2 separate regions of the Homo sapiens genome follow, and region 1 is linked to region 2. Evidence: promoter capture Hi-C in human tissues and cell types (Jung and others, 2019). All regions are on one chromosome and are shown on one strand. The core of a region is centred on a gene start or on the middle of the fragment in contact, and the rest is flanking DNA. Distances in the headings are between cores, read along the strand shown.

Region 1 (2,700 bases), core at 128-2,627, 170 kb before region 2:
TTGAGAGCTGGGAGCAATGGCATGCACCTGTAGTCTAGACCCAGCAACTCAGGAGGCTGAAAAAGGAGGATGGCTTGAGCCCAGGAGTTCTAGGCTATAGTGCACATAATTGTGCCTGTGAATACACTGCAAATTAAAACCTGGGAAATATAGCAAGACCCTGTCATAAATAAATAAATAAATAAATTCCTTGAAATATGTCACACTATGCAGATTTCACTATGCATATTATGCTCAGTGTAAGCAAAATTATTTTTATTTTTGGAGACAGGGTCTTGCTCTGTCACTCAGGCTGGAGTACAGTGGCACAAATCATGGCTCACTGCAGCCTCAATCTTATAGGCTCAAGCAATCCTCCTGCCTCAGCCTCCCAAAGTGCTCGGATTACAGATGTGAGCCACTGTACCTGGCTGCAAATTTAATTAGACATAAAAATATAATATTAAGTTATGATAGAAAAAGCTTTGGGATATTTCCAGAACTTCCCCTCTCTCCACCTTTTTTTTTTTTTTTTTTTTTGAGACTGAGTCTCCCTCTGTTACCCAGGCTGGAGTTCAGTGGTATAATCTTGGCTCACTGCAACCTCTGCCTCCCAGGTTCAAGCAATTCTCCTGCCTCAGCCTCCTGAGTAGCTGGGATTACAGGCACCTGCCACCACACCTGGCTAATTTTTTGTATTTTTTAGTAGAGACAGGGTTTTACTATATTGGCCAAGCTGGTCTTGAACTCCTGTCCTCAGGTCATCTGCCCACCCTAGCCTCCCAAAGTGTTGGGATTATAGGTGTGAGCCACCGTGCTCTGTCAATCTGTCAATTTTTTTTCATTACAAAGTCAAAGACAACCAACCCAAAATTTTAAAAGCTCATATTACAAAACGAAGAAACACCAAAGCAGTGTTATAAAATTTGTGTTACATTAAAAAAATTTATGTTTAATAAGTTAGAATTCCAAACCAAGGAATACATTGCAATATAACTGTGCCAGTCATAAGGTAATAATAGGACATATGAAATATTAATTCACAGGGCACTAAAGAAAGTGTGTGGGCTGGTATTGGGACATATGCTTAAGGCTGTATAATGAATATCTTCATTTCTTCTTTTTTTTTTTTTTCAAAGCAACAACATAAAGTTGTAGGGATATCTTCATTCTTGCTCATTTTTGAGACTGTTGTGCTCTCATTTGGAGATGACGTCAAAGTTTGAATTTGATGACCCTTTGTGACAATGGGGGCTCAGCTAAGCAGCTCTCTGGACTCCCATTATAATAAGCTGTACATACTTTCTGATGTAATAGTAGAGATACTTGGTACTTTATCCTAGAAAAATGTTTTTATTATCAAACATGACAGGCTACTTATGTGGCTGTATTTTATTTATTTTATTTATTTATTTTTTGAGACGGAGTCTTGTTCCATCACCCAGGCTGGAGTACAGTGATATGATCTCAGCTCACTGCAACTTCTGCCTCCCAGGTTCAGGTGATTCTCCTGCTTCAGCCTCCCGAGTAGCTGGAATTACAGGCATGCATCCCCACACCCGGCTAATTTTTGTGTTTTTTGTAGAGACAGGGTTTCACCATGTCGGTGAGGGTGGTGTTGAACTCCTGGCCTCAAGTGATCCGCCCTCCTTGGCCTCCCAAAGTGCTGGGATTATGGGAGTGAGGCACCACGTCTGTCCTGAGGCTGTATTTTAGGTATTGTTCCTTTGTTAACGTTGGAAAATGGCCGAGGAAGCTAATGGGCTGCACGCAGCCAAAGGACATAGTGGCCCGGTTTGTACCCTTCGAGGTACCTGAGGAGCCTCAGTAAAACTTTACCCCGAAAAGGGCCATTTTCTCCTTTTAGCCACTTGCATAAAGAAGAATGATAGTTTACTATGTATTGAAATTGTCCATCACAAGTATTTTTTCTGAGGGTTATGGTCATCACACAGCACCACAAAGGCATTAGGAAAAGAAGCAGTCTAGACAAGTCCAATCAAGTAGATGGCCTTGGTGTTGACACTGAGCCAGATTTACAAATAAAGCCCAAACTTAAACAACAACAAAAAAACTATATTGTTAGGAATGTCTTTTAAAATTACATTTATGGCCAGGTGTGGTGGCTCATACCTATAATCCCAGCACTTTGATAGGCTGACATGGGAGGATCACTTGAGCCCAGGAGTTTGAGACCAGCCTGGGTAACATGATGAAACCAAAAATGTTACCAAAAAATGTAAAAAATGAACTAGGCATGGTGGCACCCACCTGTAGTCCCAGCTACCTGGGAGGCTGAGGTGGGAGGATCACGTGAGCCTGGGAGGTTGAGGCTAGAGTGAGCCACGTTCACGCCACTGCACTCCAGCCTGGGTGACAGAGTGAGACCTTGTCTCAAAAAAAATTATTAAATATTGAAGAGATCAAAATAATATTTGCAAAATATATAAAGTAATAAAGAATCATGATACAATGGACCCTTATGTATTCCCCACCACTCATGTAAGAAACGTGAGGAACAACATCATTGTGAACTTTGAAGTCCACTGGGATTCCCTCCTAGGTCCCCTCCCTTCTTTCTCTCCTTGGAGGTAACCATTATCCTGAATTCATGTTTTTAAATTCCTTTGTTTTTAATTATAGTTTTACCACATGTGTTTGTATTCCTAATATTTATATGTATATAAGTGCTTAAAATTTTAACAGAAATATAGCATGCAT
Region 2 (2,700 bases), core at 129-2,628:
CATACTCTTCTTCTCAATAGGGACCCAGGTCTGTCTCAGCTACATGCTGGGACCATTAAAGTCAAGAACATTGCCACTGACACTGTGCCTGGTGCCAGCACACTCCTGAGACACAGCAGGTCAACCACAGCACTCACCTCAACAGCGCCTCCCTCACCCCACCTGAGGGGCACCCATGCCAATGATGCACAGGTATCTATCTTCTTAATCATCTCTGCTGAGGGGCCAGGCTGCAAATTACCCATCTCCCCAACCCCAGAGAAAGTCTAGGTGCTTAGGGGAGAACAGAGACTATGAAAATTATACCATGAGGGATTCCAGGTAGATCTCAGAAAGGACTTCCAGGTGGGAGAGATGAGTTTGGAGAACTGGTAGGGGGGAAGAGGAGTGTGCAGAATGGGACGCCTCCCTCCACCCCCTACCCCAGTGCCCCATCTAGAGCCAGAGTAGCTGAAAGCCAAAGGCTGCCAGGGCAAATGGGAGCAGGTGTGAGGAGGGGGACTCTTGAGGCTGGGGGTGCAGAAGCAGCAAGTTGCTTCTTCCTGGGCCCACTGCCTCTCTACTGACACCAAATAGGCAAGGGAAGGTGACCGAATGGCTGCTGCCTTCCCAGGCAGAGACGCTGTGTCCCCACCATCCCCCTGGCTGCTCCCACCTATCCCTAGCCTGGATCAGCTTTGGGGTCGGGGGTGTGGCAGAGAAGAGGAAAAGAAGGCATGGCTGGGGCAGGGGCCTCCCCAGGCTCCCATCTCATCAGAATTCAGCCTTGCCTGGGGTGATCAGGGGTCCTGATGACTCTCCCGCTGTCCCCTTTCAGAGCCCATGGCCACATAGAGCCCCCTCTCCTAAGGTCCCTCCAGTATCCTTCCAGGAGAGAAGGAGAGGTCCGGGCATCGGTGTCTCCACCGTCACTCACACACCCTATGTGTTTGGGAAAGTGGGGTCCCTATCCACCTGCCCACAGCCCACAGCTCTCCTGGCCTCCTGCGGACAATGCCCCCCTCGCGGACATCGCCAGGCCGTCCACACCTGCCCATGCCCACACCTGACTGCCCGTCCCTCCCCGCCCCCGGCCCACCCGGGCCGGCTCCCGCCAGTCCTACCTGCTCCGGGCTGGGGGCTCAGCGCCCGGGCAGCCTCCCTGAGCACCAGCACCAGGAGCCAGAGCTCGCCTCGCATGGTGGGTGCCCGGACCTGCCCCCGGCCTGCTTGCTGCCCCGGTCCTGACGAGGGAGGGGGCCCTGGCTCAGGCTGCGGCCGCGCGGTCCCCGGGGCTGGCGGAGGGGCGGGCGGCGAGGAGACGGCGGAGCGCGGGGCCGGGCGAGCCGGCAGGAGCGGCGAGAGCGCGAGCGGAGCTGGAGGCTGCGGCCTCCGGGAGCAGGCGGGGAGCTGGGGGGGCCGCTGGGTCGGTGGGGGTGGGGGGGAGCTGGGGCAGGGGGCGGGGCGGGGGGCGCGGCGTCGTTGGGGGCTCTCCCGGCGCCTGCCCTCAGCCCTAACGGAGCGCTCCCCTAGAGCTCTGCAGCCGCTCCCAAGGCAAGGGGTGCAGAGTAGGGGACAGGGCGGGAGCCCCTCGGGCTGAGAGAACCCCTAGAAGCATCAGCCGCCCCGCGCTCCTCACTGAGCTCCTGGCTCCCTTTCCCTCCTCCGTTCCGCCGGGAAAGCTGCAGAGAGAAGGCCCGAGGACTGGACCCCTGGAAGGGACAGGCGCCCCATCCCTGGGTCACGGGCCCCTGACTGTTCCCCGCCCCCAGCTCCTCCAAGCTCTGCGACTTCCTGAGCTGTTCTTCGGAATTCTGTGCGTCTCTGATGCTTTGTCCTCCAGCCCCCACCCCCAGAAATCTCCCCCTGCAGCAAAGACCCCCAGCTTTTCTCCCCAAGAGGGGCCTGAATCCCACCCCCCTTCCATGACTCCACCTTATCCCTCCACCCCCCATTTCCAGCACCGATTTGCCCCCCAAGCCTAGCAGACGTGAGGGTGGAGGGGGCCTGGCTACCCCTTACTCTGCAACAGTCTGGACCCCTCCCCACGAGTAGGTAACCCAGGCCTCCTGCCTCTCTGGGGCCTCCAGGCCTACTCAGGGCCAGACCCAATCAATCTTCAGAGCCAGCCCCAGACGAGGAAATGGCTCACCCCACCTGTCACCACCTTCTGACAGGCTCTGGGGATAGATAATCTTTTTATTTTTTCTTCCAGGACAGAATAAAAATACCCGCAATGTAGGATATTTAATAGACGGCAAGGAATCAGGTCAGGACACGAAGATGCCTCTTCCCTCCCCTGACCTACTTCGTTCTTGTGACGGCAAGGAGCTGGGGCGCTGGAGAGTGGGAGACGGGGTGAGGGGGCATCCTGGCTTCTAGTGGGCTGGGGCCTAGGGACTAGAAAACCGCGGAGAGGAAGGGTGCGAACGCTGAGCGCCATTGGAGAAATTTTCCAGGAGGAGGGATATGGGCGGGGACAGGAGAAGGTACACTGTGGGCTGGAAGAGACGGATTCCGTGGCACTGAGGTTAAAAAAAAAAAAAAGAAAAGAAAAGAAAAAAAAACACCTAAGAAAGGAAACAACTAAAGGCTCTCTAATCTCTTAGAACGCCGGTTCCTCCTTCCGCCGGGCCCAGAGTCCCAGAGACTACCTCCTCCAGCCCTAAACCCAATGTCCCCTTACCGTGGAACAAGGCAAGGCCGGTCTGTAAATTCTTC

The links. Contacts are between HindIII fragments. The study calls those that stand out against the background at their distance.
Region 1: a fragment that was not itself captured here is called in contact with the fragment with the promoter of PLXDC1 in region 2 in 3 of the 25 tissues and cell types used here (dorsolateral prefrontal cortex, neural progenitor cells and spleen).

Annotation. Positions count from the first base shown.
Region 1 is chr17:38,983,817-38,986,516 of GRCh38, forward strand. No RefSeq gene overlaps it. Among named protein-coding and RNA genes, the nearest start is that of FBXO47, 18 kb to the left of the region's middle. The HindIII fragment of the contact is 7,886 bases long and covers 1-2,700 here.
Region 2 is chr17:39,150,259-39,152,958 of GRCh38, forward strand. It overlaps PLXDC1 (plexin domain containing 1), which reads right to left and starts at 1,379. Exons shown (of 14, transcript NM_020405.5): 1 at 1,104-1,379. The coding sequence starts at 1,179. The HindIII fragment of the contact is 18,756 bases long and covers 1-2,700 here.